4 separate regions of the Homo sapiens genome follow, and all the other regions are linked to region 1. The links are contacts of gene promoters, found by promoter capture Hi-C in human tissues and cell types (Jung and others, 2019). All regions are on one chromosome and are shown on one strand. Each heading gives the region's core, a stretch centred on a gene start or on the middle of the fragment in contact. The rest is flanking DNA. Distances are from core to core; before and after follow the strand shown. Region 1 holds the start of ZNF814 (zinc finger protein 814). Region 2 holds the start of ZNF773 (zinc finger protein 773). Region 3 holds the start of ZNF550 (zinc finger protein 550). Region 4 holds the start of ZNF530 (zinc finger protein 530).

Region 1 (3,454 bases), core at 268-2,767:
ACAACTTTGACTCCCTATGATTTCATCTCCAACCCAACCAATCAGCATTCCCCAATTCATGGCCCCCTATCTACCAAATTATCCTTAAAAAACCCCAGTCTCAGGAGGCGGAGGTTGCAGTGAGCTGAGATCGTGACATTGCACTTCAGCCTGGGCAACAGGAGCAAAATTCTGTCTCAGAAAACAAACAAACAAATAAACAACAACAACAACAAAAAACCCCAGTCTCGCAATTTTCAGGGAGACTGATTTGAGTAATACTAGTAAGACTCCAGTATGCTGTTCATCCAACTCTGTGTGAATAAAACTCTTTTTCTTTTGCAATTTCCCTGTCCTGATAAATTGGCTTTATCTGGGCAGTAGGAAAAATGAACCCTCTGGGTGTTTACACGTTCATTTTAACAATACAATAATGGTTATTAATCTTTGCATTAATCTTTGCTTCCAGTGGAAGAATTTTGCATCTGAAGGACCATCTGAAATGATAGGTGAATTTGGATCTGTAGCCTTTGGGAACATCTACACTAACTCTGAAATAATATTTTTCCATACACTAGGGTAATCAGTTACAGCCAATAACCCCAAGAAATCTCAATGTGAGTTCTAAGGAGAGGCAGGATGATCCTCTGCCTAGGAGAAAGATCTGCAATCTTTTATTTATTTTTTTATTTTTATTTTTATTTTTTTTTCCAACATGGAGTCTTGCTGTGTCACCCAGGCTGGAGTGCAGTGGCAGGATCTCACTCACCGCAACCTCTGACTCCCATGTACAAGAGATTCTCCTGCCTCGGCCTCCCCAGTAGCTGGGATTACAGGCGCATGTCACCATGTGGGTTAATTTTTGTATTTTTAGTAGAGGCGGGGTTTCACCATGTTGGCCAGGCCAGTCTTGAACTCCTGACCTCAGGTGTTCCACCTGCCTCGGCCTCCCAAAGTGCTGGGATTACGGGCGTGAGCCGCCCGCACCTGGCCCTTATTTTTATTTTTTAGATAAGAGGTCTCGTTCTGTTGCCCAGGCTGGAATGCAGTGGTACGATCTCGGCTTACAGCAGCTTCGAACTCCTGAGCTCAAGCGATTCTCCCTCCTCAGGCTCCCTAACCCTAACCCCAACCTTAGGGCAGCTGGGACCACAGGCCCGCCCGACCACACTCCGCTAATATTTTTTATTTTTTGTAGAGACAGGATTTTGCTTTGTTGCTCAGGCTAATTTCTAACTCCTGACCTCAAATGATCCTTGTGACTTGGCCTCCCAAACTGGTGGAATTACAGGCGGGAGCCACCATACCAGTCAGGACGCACATCTTAAGGATACTCCCGAGGTGAAGCTGGGCTTTTCCTGCAGAAGCGCCTCTGGGAATTGCGCCCTTTACCCTCCTTGTTGCCTAGGGAACTACATTACCCAGAAAACTCAGCCTCGAATGATAGCGTAGAAGACCTCTGAGGGCTCAGAATAAAGGCGTTTCCTGTGTGCACGTGACAATGGGTCCGGACTTCCGGCGCCCTCTGGTGGCGGCCATTTTGATTGGTGTTGGATTTATTTGTAGGAGAGGCTCCTGAGCGCTAGGTCCGCACTGTGGTGACTGAACCCAGAAGTCGGGGAGCAGTTGTCCTCCGCTGCACAGAGGCTACTCTGGAGCTCTGTGACGGCGCCCAGCGTGACCCACTCCTGGGCCAGGATACGGACCGTCGTGCCCATATCTCCTGGCTGGTCGCCCTATCCTCCCGACTCTGCTTAAAACCACGTGGTTCGATGGCTGCCGCGGCTACGCTGAGGCTCTCCGCTCAGGTAATTGTGGGGCCTTCTGTGTCCTCAGGTCACCTCATCGTCACCCAAAAGCAGCGAGGTAGCAGCGCCTGTTCACGGCTCTGCAGCCCGGACGCCGGCGTTGGGACACTGAGGCGCTTGCGGGAGGGGCCCCATTTCTGACACCCGTGGGATGCGGTGGGGAGACCGGCAGGTACAGGGACTGGCGCGGGCAAAGGCCTGGAAGTGAACTGAGCCAGAAGGATGGAATCTGGGGTCCACAGGTGCCTGTTGGGAGCAAATTATGAGGCGGAGCTCCTCCTGGAAGAGCAAGCAGGCTGGGGGCTATGAACTCACGTGAGGACCCTAGAAGGCATGGAGATTTTCGAAGAAAGGAGGGATGTCATGAGCATTGTAAGGGTAGAGATAATCAGGTCCATGCATGTTTGTGTCTTTGCACAGTGTCAGGTGATATTTGAGTCAACAAAAGCCATGAGCTAAATGGAGTTCGAAGGAGGCAATTCTCTTGTGATTCCAGTTCACTTGGTAGTTGGCCATGGGCACAGAGGCTGAAGACACTCCCCAAGTCAGTCAATATAGCAAACAATACACAATAGTATACTTAACATGTAAATGTTAAAGGTTAAACATAACACTGTTGTACCCGGGCGAGTTAGAAAAACGCCACACTTTGAGACGAATTAAGAGTCCTTTATTCAGCTGGCGGCCAAAGAGACGGCTAACGCTCAAAATTCTCTCGGCCCCGAGGAAGGGGCTTGATTAACTTTTATACTTTGGTTTAGGAAGGGGAGGGGAGCTTAAATGCAACAACTCTTCAGAAGTAAAAACATGCAAAAAATTAAAAGGATAAATGGTTACAGAGAAACAAACAATTTAAAAGACAAATGGTTACAAAAAGGCAAGGTACCAGGTGTGGCGCTCTAAATCCTTCATAAGAGTTAGATATGGGCACTACGCCAGACACAAACTCAAGGCTTTATGGTGTTATCTTTTGAGCAAAATCCTGGGAACTTCATACATGGTTTGTTCCCAGTCCCTTATCAGTTAATTGGACTCCTTTGATATGTTGAGAATCTGCTTACACAAGTTAACTCCTTGAGGAAAGGGGGGTGGGTAAGGAGTCCTTAATGTCTTGTAAATCAAGGGGGCCAGGTGGAGCTCGTCTGGCTTTCTCAGCTAAGCGAGAGTCTATTCATGTGGAAACGAGGCTAGGTGATTAAGAGAGCAAAAGGGAGAGTCTAAAAACAGGATTAGTGAAAACAAGGTTGGGCATTACAACACAAGGAACAAAATAATGCTTAGCATCAAGAGGAAAAAGATATAGGAGCAAACGTTATGGAACCAGTTTAGAGGGAGCAAGGAAGACAAAAGGCATCTTGGTCTGGGCCAGTTGGTGGGCAATTGGCCTGCAGTCTTACAAGGAAGAGTCTTTGAGGTGGCAGAGCCTTAGGCAGCAGATGCTGAGTTTTGAGCTGCTGAAGGCCTAATCTTTTACAGTTACAGAATACTCTGGTGAGAACTGATAGTGGAAGAGTTTCCTTGTTTGTGACCTTACCTGGTTAGATGTAGTCTTTATTTTTTATTTTGTTTTGTTTTCTTGAGACGGAGTTTCGCTCTTGTTGCCCAGGCAGGAGTACAATGGTGTGATCTCGGCTCACTGCAATCTCTGCCTCCCGGGTTCAAGCGAT
Region 2 (3,454 bases), core at 540-3,039, 390 kb after region 1:
AATCAAGACCATGAGAACCAGACAGTGATGTTACCAAAGGATCATCCAAGCCCCCTCGTCTAGCCTGGAGTCAGGTGTGCCTGACTATCTGCAATCTGGGCTTTGGTTCTTAGTGATGCCTCTTACCTGTTGTGTGCCCTTGGAAAAATGCTCAACTTCCCTGTGCCTTGGTATTGCCATCTGCAACATGGCAATAATGGTATTCACTCAATAGGACTATTGTTTGTATCAAACTCATTCTTATGTGTCTAGGACTAAATATCAACTCTTACTGTACACATAATTAATGCTTCTGTCAACATTTTCAGTGCAAATAAACTGGTAGGTTTTCAAAATGTGGGTTTCTGCCTGGGTGCAGTGGCTCAAGCCTGTAATCCCAACACTTTGGGAGGCCGAGGTGGGCAGATCACAAGAGCAGAATTCTGTCTCAAAAAAAAAAAAAAAAGAAAGAAAAAGAAAGACAATGTGGGTTTCCTTTTGGCAATCTGGCTGCCTGCTATATACTCCCCTGAAGACCATCCTGCTGAGAGCCCTCCCTTCTACTGGAGCAGTTGATCATCCCACCTGTGCTGATAGCTAGGGAAACTTAGGCACCAAAGGTGCTGCTCCACCAGCCTGGCTGACCTTTCCTTTTCTCCATATGGACTGGACATGAGGAACTACTAAGCCTGGAGTGGCAAACCTATATACTACCCAACACTGCGGTCTCCATCCAGTCCTGGGTGTTCATACTCTATAACCCTCCATTCCTGCAGGCACCAGACAAAATCACTTCGGACCACGAAACTCCAGGCTGTAGAGGCTGCCCCATCCTACAGGCCCATCTCTCCCTTCCCTCACCTCAGGGACCATCTGAAAGAAAACTTTAAGATTCTCCCTCCTAAATACGAGCCCCAGGCCTTCCAGCTGCTCATGTGGACATGACACCTCCACTCTGGGACATCTCAGGATCACCATGCCCAAAACCTATTCCCTGCACAGCCTTACCCATCTCCATCCTTCCTGATATTCAGGAACAAACAAAAATACAAATAAAAATCCAGAATGGCTCTTCATTCCCTACTTTCTTTCACAGTCACATCTGATGCAACAGGAATTCCCGTCTGTTCAGTTTTTGAAATCCATCCAAGATCTGATCACTTCCCCTCCTCTGTGGCCCAGTCCCAGTAGACTCTCCACTAGTCTACTGAATTTACCTACTCACAGGTCTGTCTTCACCCGCCTCACCCCCACCCCAGTCTGTTTTGACTTGAAGGGCCTTTGGCAAACTTTGAGAAACAGATCTTGTCACTCTTCTGTCTCCAGCCCTCCGCGGCCACTGTGGCCCCCTCAGGATGAAAGCGCAGCTGCTCGGGCTGTCGCTCGACACGCGCCTCGTCCCTTCCCAAGCTGCCCACTACAGACACCAGGAGGCCTCAGGTTCGGGACTCGCTGAATGCGCCTCACATCTTTGCGAGCCGGGCCCCTTGCCCTCCATTGCCACCCCATCACACTGCGTGTCAGAAACGGGACGCCGCCCACGAACGCCCCACAGTTCTGCACCCGGGGACCTGAGCAGGCGGCCCTCACAGGGCTTTAGGATTCGGGGGAGGCCGGGAGGACGCGGCGCTCACCTGAGCGGGGTCCCTCAGCGTGGCCGCCGCCATCGGAGCCTGTGGCGGTGAGACAACGACCGAGGAAAGGGCCCGGGCCACCCTGGGCGCCGCCACCGAGCCTCAGACCCGCCTCTGAGCTGCGAGAACACAGCGCGTCCCCACCGCGCTTTCCGGAGCTGGTCGCCGCAGCGAACAACCAGCTTCCGGCAAGCTGAGTTCTCTTGAGGGCAGCGAAAGCAACCGCCGAGGGGAGACGCCGGAAGTCCCGCCCATTGCGCGTCGCACTCTCGGGTAGACCTCTTTTCATTGGCCAAGCATCGCGGCTCACGGCGCGGCGCCTTCTGGGCAGTGTAGTTCGCGTGGCTCCAAACTTCGAGGAAGTGGGCATAACTTCGGAGATGGAGATTGGAGACGGTAGATGATGGAGATGGAGATGGAGATGGAGATGATGGAGATGATGGAGATGGAGATGATGGAGATAGAGATGATGATGGAGATGGAGATGATGGAAATGGAGATGATGAAGATGGAGATGATGGAGAAGATGGAGATGATGGAGAAGATGGAGATGATGGAGAAGATGGAGATGGAGATGATGGAGTAGGAGATGGAGATGGAGATGATGGAGATGATGGAGATGGAGATGATGGAGATAGAGATGATGATGGAGATAGAGATGATGATGGAGATGGAGATGATGGAGATGGAGATGATGGAGATAGAGATGATGATGGACATGGAGATGATGGAGATGGAGATGATGATGAAGATGGAGATGATGGAGAAGATGGAGATGGAGATGATGGAGTAGGAGATGGAGGAGAAATGAGTGTCGAGAACTCTCGGACTCATCTGGAACCTGTTGTAATTGGAGATGGGCCTGGATTTCAGTTTCCTGCAGCTGATACTCCAATCTTTCCTTCTTTTGAAGGACTTGAAGAGGATCTTCAGGGCCACCATAAAGAGGTTTCACTGGGCAAAGCCACGTATACCTTCCTAAATTTCCTTTGGCAAGGGGACACCCAATATTAATGCCTGATGTATGATAATAAGAAAAGGCTCTGAATTCTGGATGTAGGTGATGAGAGAGTAGGGGAGCCCAAGGATTTACGTTCCTCTTTCACCCCATTCTCATTTGTGTTCTTTCCTTCCTCAAGGACCCAACATTGGTGTAAAGGCACAACAACAGGCAGCAAACCCATAAGCCAACTCCCCCTCAATTTCTCCCCTTCATCCATTTCTGCTCCATATTCCTGTCACAGTTACTATGGGACTGAACGAAGGGGAACGAATGCAGAAATGAAAACAAAGGCAAAATAAATCTGTTTTAAAGAAGGGGTCAGGGGGCTTCTTGCTTCTAGTGAGGAAGGGCCCTGAGCTTCCACAGACCTTCATATTTATTGGGTAGAAAGAGTAGGGAGGTGGTGGCTTACGCCTGTAATCCCAGCACTTTGGGAGGCCAAGGCGGGTGGATCACAAGGTCAGGAGATCGAGACTATCCTGGCTAACACGGTGAAACCCCGTCTGTACTAAAAAATACAAAAAATTAGCCGGGTGTGGTAGCAGGTGCCTGTAGTCCCAGCTACTCGGGAGGCTGAGACGGGAGAATGGCATGAACCCGGGAGGTGGAGCTTGCAGTGAGTGGAGTTCATGCCACTGCACTCCAGCCTGGGCGACAGGGAGAGAATCCGTCTCAAAAACAAAAAAAAAGAAAAGAAAATATCGCTCTGGTTTTGTAATGATAAAATAGAACCTACATATATTTTGTGTTATGCATTCTTGGCATACCTATTTCAATGAATTCTGGTTTTTTGAAATTGTCTCAAATATTCAAAAATTTTTTCCAGTATATTTATTGA
Region 3 (3,454 bases), core at 425-2,924, 330 kb after region 1:
GGACTCATGAAAAGCTAAAATGTTTATAAATATCAAGCAGAACAAGAGTTAACAGAATAGGCTGAACTAATAGAAAAACTGAAATAATCTTTTTGACTTTTGCTTGGAACATTGCTGATCCTTGTTTTGTTTTTCAGAGTCAAGGAAACTTCTTTTGAGCTAGCTACAGCCTTTAACAATTGAGTAAGGTTTACTCCTGAGAACAAAATTTGGAACATGTTTGTTTCTCTCTGCCTTATTGGTTCTTTAAGGACCACTGCAACATGGTCTTGGGAATTATACTTCAAGAAGCCTATAAGGTTAAAGGGTGTTTATACTCACAGTGATATAGGAATAGCACTGGGTGGTTGCAGGAGGATGGAAAAATTCGAACAACAAATAAAAACAAGAACTAGGCAAAGAAACCATAGGATAACAGAAAACCCAAAATAAGAGAAAGAATGGCCAAAATCCCAGTCAGGATGACATGTCCATGACTCTTCTGGGCAAAGCCAAATAAGAGAGAAAGGGGGCAGTAACCAGGTGGGTCCCTGAATTTCCCTCCTTTTCCAGAATACCTAATAATTATTCCACTCTCTAATTAAAGAAACACCCACAAAATAGGAATGCTGTGTGGTCACAGGAGAAGGGGGAAAACATCAAGCTGTTAAAATTAGCTACTCCAACAAGAAGACTGGGCTGATGAGACCTTAACAAACAGGATTGGGGCTAGGCTGTCCCATGACGCTAGATTTGACCCATTTCCTACCCCAGACCTAATTATACACTCATTGCCACATTAAATCACACACCCACCAGTGCCAGGCCAATCCAAGCACGCCCACATTTAGTATAAAAATGGTTGGCACCCCAATTCTAAGAAATTCCCACCTTTTCCTAGAAAAACCTCATGATTATCCCACCCCCTAATTAGAAGAGCCCATAAAATTAGAAACCCAAACTCCATTGTGCATGACCCGCTCTCCCTCGTACGTCCGCATTTCCCTCTTCTCTTGGGAAAAGTACACTCTTCTCAAAAATGTGTACTTTTTCTTCCCAATAAAAGCTTCTTGCCTTTGGCTTCATTTTGACTCATCCCTGCATTCTTTCTCACGATGGTGTCACGAAGCTGGACTCCGGAAGCGGGCGGGGACTCACGGCCCCTGGAGACCTTCCTGAGCCCTGGGCAACACCAGTCCACACAGAGGAGGCAGACGTCCCACAGACGGAACCCCACGAGCATGTCCCGGGAATGGCTCCACGCGGGAAGCGGGGGTCCAGATCCACGCCAGTCCCAGGGACAGTGCCTGGCGTCAGGGTGGAGGAGGACGCAGTAACCAGGCGTAAGATTTTACTGGTACATGGGAATGTCACTGGGTCACTCAGAGGAGGCAAGCGGGGAACCTCGTGGCAGGGCCCCCTTTATCAAACTCGTTTACCTGGGTGCCTGGGCGAGTGCTCACAGCCTGCTTGTAGGGACGTTGAGGCATCCGAATAATAGGAAGTTTTAAAAATTTACAATCCAGTGTGTACACTTGCTCCGCTAAGATCATCTGAGATATACAGAAACATGGTGTGCATAATAAAAAAGGAAAAAGAGCCAAGCCTGGCCTCTTACGGGACAAGACTACATTACCTAGAAGGCAGTGGGCCGGCGCAGGAAAAGGCGTGGCAGGCGACCGCGACACAGGGGCGGGACTTCCGGCCTCGCTGGCGTGGACGTTTGTGGTGGGGCGTGTTGGTCCGCGCTCTCAGAACTGTGCTGGGAAGGATGGTAGGGCGACTGGGGCTCACCTCCGCACCGTTGTAGGACCCGGGGTAGGGTTTTGAGCCCGTGGGAGCTGCCCCACGCGGCCTCGTCCTGCCAACGGTCGGATGGCGGAGACGAAGGACGCAGCGCAGGTGAGCAGACTGGCTCGGCTCCCCGCGGCCACCCGGCCTCAGTGTCCCGGGCCCGACGAGCGGAAGGACGGCGTTTCAGGGTCGTCCTCAGTGCAGTCCCTGCCGTTGCTTCTTAGAGGCCTAGAAGGGGGTCGCGCGGTCCCGGGTCCGGAATGCAGGCCCGCGGTGGCGTGGGGAGCGTCCCCGTTTCTGGGGTGCGCGGCGTTGTGGTATGAAATAGGGCTTTTAGGGTCCCGGAACCCCTCACAGGTGAGAGGAGCGACCGCAGTCCTCCTCGTGGCTCTTCCAACCATGTCCTTTCTCGGGCCTGCGACCTTGAACAAGTCCCGTTACTGTCCTCGTCCTTCATTTTTGCGCGCGCAAAGTAGAAATATTTACTCTTCCCCCCCCCGGGGTTGAGGAAGCTTGAACGGCTCCCTGGGTGATGTGTGTGTGTCCGTCTCAGTGCACAGCACGGTCCGGGGACGTCGCTCAGGATGTTGTTTCCGGAGCTGCTCCCTGGGCCTGTGCTAGGTTTGGAGACTCAACCCCAGCAGGAGTCTGACCCTCTGGCCTCCTTGGCCTCCTGTCTCTACAACACGAAGGGCAGCGGCTGAAAGAGGTGGGAGGAGCGTTTCTGCGGTTGCTGCTATGCCAGGGCAGAAAAGGTGGTAGGGCAGGCTGAGGAATTTGTCTTTCAGTTTAGGGCAAGGGACGCTGGGTTGCAACTAACAGTATATTTTCCTGTTTAAGACATTTAGTTACAGGTGAAAAACGAGTCCATTAAAATGTTCAGTGGCGATGGTATGCAGGATGTAGTGTCCCTTTGGAGATAACACATGAGGCCCAGGGTTACTCTCTAGCAGTCACTCTGATTACTTTCATGATAGCCCAGATTACTGTCAGCTCCTGTCGTAGTTGTTAATTTCTCATCCACCTCTCCCTCCTTTGCTTTATTTCTGACTCCCTCTGGTGTCCGCTGCTTAAAGAGGTCTCGTCTGTTGCACCGTTTAAAGCTGACCAGAGTCTCTTTGGTCTCCTTGCTCTGTTTTCTTGTCATCTGAATCTTTAAGGCCATCTGACATTGCCTTACTCATTTATTTAGTTGCCTGTTTAGGATCTTTTTCCAACCCTGGAATGTGAGTGCCTGTTGCTTCCCTCTCCCAAGACCCAGAACAGCCAGGCTTAAGTACATTTATTGTACTTAATAAATGGTTGATGATTGAATAGGCCTCTCTTATAGGGACTCTCATCACATTTCCAATAAATCCACCCCCTCCTACCAGCATGGTCTGCAAGGCTGTACTTGGTTTGCCCTTTTGACCGCATCTTCTTTCTCCTCTTCCATTGTCCCCTTTCTCACTGCATTCATCCAGGGAATCCTGAGCTTGCCAAGCTCTTTCCCATTTTCAGCCTTTGCCCTTGCACTTCCCTTTGTCTGAGACATTGTTCTCAGGTCTCTGCGGGGCTGCAGTTCCACACCCATCCTGGCAGTGCTGGCTGTAGCTAAAAGCACCCCTCACTCCCACCTGCCTGCTCTCTGGCAGCTTGGTGAGGTGTTTTAGCGGTGCTCAAATGCTGCTTTTGCTTTTTA
Region 4 (3,454 bases), core at 531-3,030, 290 kb after region 1:
TAGGGCTCCATCCTAGTTCAATAATATCCTCCACTCTTTGTAGAAGTCTCTATCCTGCACCCTTCCTCAGAGTCCAAGACCTGTGTGTCCACCTAGCCACTTGATATAGCTACTTACTTATTCTCTAAAACATCTCATATTTTTAACATGGACAAAACACATTCCTGATGTCCTGAGTGAAAAACAATTCTACTATCTACTTGGCTCTCCCAGTAGATGGAGCTTCTATGCTTCCAGCTACTAAACTCAAAAAGCCTTGAGTCACCCCTTCTTATCTCTCAGTCCCAATACCAGAAAATCAGAGCCGACCTACAATCCAAAATTCAACCATTTCTGCCACACTGTGGCCACTACTCTGGCCCACATCATCTACACTCACCTGGACTATTGCAGTAGTCTCCTCTTTCCTCTTTGGTATTGCTACCAACTCCCTTAAACCCACAGTCTGTTGTCTGTGCTCAGCCACAGGAGCCTCATGAGGCCTGGGGAAGATCACCTCCCTCTTCTGCTCCAAATCTTCATTGCTGCCATCATCTCCAGAACAAAGACATCTGAGACAGCCATTTAGTTTCTAACTCCTGTACCTCTGCTCTCTGTTCCCATGAGAAGGAAATGAGACTTGAGGTTCTCTTAACCAGCTCAGCCTCACCTCCAAGCAGCTCCAAACACCTGTACTTATCTCTGGGACAAACTTCCACATTCATCCTATTATTTGCCAGCAACAGGCACCACCTCATATAATACTCACCCTGGACATATTTTTGTTCAGAGTCCCTAGGCTCAAGGCCTGGAAAAGCGGTAAGTAAAGAATCCCAGGTCACCACAGTCCCAATCCTAGAGATCCCATTGCTGGAATCAATGAGCTTCTGGATTTCCTCCACTTACCCTTGTAGGGTCTTCAAGTGCTTCTTACGGACCTGTAAGTACTAGTGGCAATCTGTGGGAGGAAACATGTTCTGAGAGGCAGGTGACCAAAGTGTGGCTCCATGGACTTCTGGTTCCAATGTGGAACACCAGAGCCAGGTGTCCAGGGATGACTGCTTTGTATCTGGGTGTCAGTCCTTGGTGCTGACTTTTACCAGCTTTGTGACCTCGTAAAAAGACTAGGTCCCTCCATGCCTGCTATCATCACTGCCCTTCCAGCGCGTTCCTCTGAACAGCTTTTGTGAAACTTTTAGAAGCGTGACTGGGGCCGTGCCCCTCTTCTGTCCTACGCGCTGTGGCCCTCAGTGTGCTGGTGAAACTCAGTGGGGCCAATGCAGCGCGGCGCTGCCCCACCCTCTGCTACCTGCACGCGTGAGGCCGGCCTGGGTCTCCCCAGCCTCCCGGCTCAGGCGCAGCTCCAAGCTGTTGCCCGCGCAGCCCCCTGACCGTGTCGCTCTCCCGCTCCCTGCCACACTACCAGAAACGAGATCCAGCACCAGCGCCTCACTGTGCCGGACAGTGCGGTCCGGGCTGCAGAAAACCCTTCACGCGTCCCTCAGTTTCGGGTGGGGAGGGCAGAGGAGGCCGGGAGGACGCAGCGCTCACCTGGGTCGGGGCCCTCAGTGCCGCCGCCATCGGACTCTGGGCGGAGCGGGCCGGGAGCGGTGGACGATCCGGGCGGAGACAAGAGCAAAGCTGTCACCACCGCCGGCGACCGTCAGGCCCCGGCTGTGCAGCTGAGAAAACGACTCTCCTCGCGCCTTCTCGCTGTCAGCACCTAGGTCCAGATCCGGCACCCGCGGATGGAACTGACACAAGCCAAAGTGCCCGCCACAGGGAGGACGCCGGAAGTTCCGCTCCGACAAGTTGGACAGAGCGGAAATGTCCCTCCCCTGAGCCTCATTGGCTCCACGCCAAGAACCTGGCTCACGGGCCTCTGGGTAATGTAGTTCTCACCGCTTCTTGGGCTGGCAGAGGTCGCCCTTCTCCTGGACCTCAGGGAGGAATGACCCCGTTGCTATGGAGAAAGGTGGAGGGGAAGGCTGAGAGGTGGTGTCTCCAGCCTCCTTGGACAAGGGAGGAGCTTCGCTGCTTTTTTAAGGTACCATACAGAGATTTTTGGAGGGTATTGTGTACAACTAGTCACCTAGGTAGTCAGAGTTATTCAGATACAAAATGCCTCTACCCTTGGCGAGAGCCTAGTAAACATTACCTTCTTTCTCCACACATTTATGTAAAGTAGAACGTTAGAGTCAGCTTTGTGAGTTTCATTATGCTCAGTAAGGAATAAGGGAAATAGAGTTTACATAGCGCCATGACAGGAATGATAAAACATCCGTTAGATCGCACCGAAGCTGGAGGACGAAAGAGGAATTTTGTCTCACAGAAAATGCCTCTCCTGCCTGTGTAATCGGTGAGTGTGTCTAGCCCTGTAAGGAACAGTGTTGTATTCATATAATATTTCTTCCTCCATATTCTTAGATATGCTTCTTTTAGGATTGTAGCAACTTTCTAAACAGAAGAGCCACTTAGCATATGCCATTTTAAAGTAGAACAGTGTCTGTAGTGTTCACAGTCAGAGCACTTGTGCAAAGGGGACATCAGAATACCAGAATAAAGGTTTGGGACACCTAGCTTTCATCTCTTTGATGGGAAATTTTGATCATTGATACTGTTACTGCAGGGACAGTGCTTGCATGGGGAGTTGAGATCATCTTAGAAAAACAGTTGTGAAATGAAAATTACTGAAACCTATTGTATTAGTCAGGATTCTCCAGAGAAACACAGAACCAATAGGATACATAGATGTACAAGAGGGGATTTATTATGGGACTTGGCTCATCCAGTTATGGAGGCTAAGAAGTCCCAGGATATACCTTTTGCAACCTGGTAAGACACGAAGGTGGGTGGTATCATTCAGTCTGCATCTGAAGGCCTGAAAACCAAGGGAGCCTATGGTGAAATTCCCAGTTGGAGGCTGAAGGCCTGAGAACTGGGTGAGGGTCATTCTTGTATGTTCCAGAGTCCAAAGGCCCAAGATCCAAGAACTTTAATGTTGGAAAACAGAAGGTGGATGATCCAGGGCAAGAAGAGAGTAACTTGCTCTTTCTCTGCCTTTTTGTTCTATCTTGGCTCTCAAAGCATTGGATGTTGGCCCCTAACACTGATGAGGCCAGATCTCCTTTACATTGTCTACAGACTCAACTGCTAATATCTTCCATAAACATTCTCACAGACATATCCTGTACTAAGGTTTTCCCAACTATTTGGGTAGCCCTTAATGCAGGCAAGTCGACACAAAACATTATACGTCACAACTATTAATAATCTTGTGGCTAGGCCAAGCGCGGTGGCTCATGCCTGTAATCCCAGCACTTTAGGAGGCCAAGGCAGGTGGCTCATGAGGTCAAGAGATCAAGACCAGCCTGGCCAACATGGTGAAGCCCTGTCTCTACTAAAAATACAAAAATTAGCTGGGTGTGGTGGCGTGCGCCTGTAGTCCCAGCTACTTGGGAGGCTGAGGCAGGAG

What was found. Contacts are between HindIII fragments. The study calls those that stand out against the background at their distance.
Region 2: a contact is called between the fragment with the promoter of ZNF773 here and the fragment with the promoter of ZNF814 in region 1, in 2 of the 25 tissues and cell types used here (IMR-90 fibroblasts and spleen).
Region 3: a contact is called between the fragment with the promoter of ZNF550 here and the fragment with the promoter of ZNF814 in region 1, in 1 of the 25 tissues and cell types used here (spleen).
Region 4: the fragment with the promoter of ZNF530 here is called in contact with the fragment with the promoter of ZNF814 in region 1 in 4 of the 25 tissues and cell types used here (heart left ventricle, small bowel, spleen and 1 more).

Annotation. Positions count from the first base shown.
Region 1 is chr19:57,887,100-57,890,553 of GRCh38, reverse strand. It overlaps ZNF814 (zinc finger protein 814), which reads left to right and starts at 1,517. Exons shown (of 3, transcript NM_001144989.2): 1 at 1,517-1,787. The coding sequence starts at 1,752. RefSeq lists enhancers at 1,807-1,856, 1,530-2,072, 2,073-2,616, 2,641-3,373. The HindIII fragment of the contact is 24,676 bases long and covers 1-3,454 here.
Region 2 is chr19:57,498,273-57,501,726 of GRCh38, reverse strand. ZNF773 (zinc finger protein 773) reads right to left here and starts at 1,789. Exons shown (of 4, transcript NM_198542.3): 1 at 1,614-1,789. The coding sequence starts at 1,646. The HindIII fragment of the contact is 9,164 bases long and covers 1-3,454 here.
Region 3 is chr19:57,558,083-57,561,536 of GRCh38, reverse strand. ZNF550 (zinc finger protein 550) reads left to right here and starts at 1,674. Exons shown (of 4, transcript NM_001397372.1): 1 at 1,674-1,881. The coding sequence starts at 1,855. It overlaps LOC124904781 (a long non-coding RNA gene), which reads right to left and starts at 1,595. Exons shown (of 2, transcript XR_007067357.1): 1 at 1,419-1,595. RefSeq lists enhancers at 1,313-1,422, 367-1,566, 2,053-2,102, 1,544-2,408, 2,553-2,632. The HindIII fragment of the contact is 8,093 bases long and covers 1-3,454 here.
Region 4 is chr19:57,598,211-57,601,664 of GRCh38, reverse strand. ZNF530 (zinc finger protein 530) reads right to left here and starts at 1,780. Exons shown (of 4, transcript NM_001321981.2): 1 at 1,531-1,780; 2 at 886-937. RefSeq lists enhancers at 1,313-1,432, 1,523-1,732. The HindIII fragment of the contact is 9,316 bases long and covers 1-3,454 here.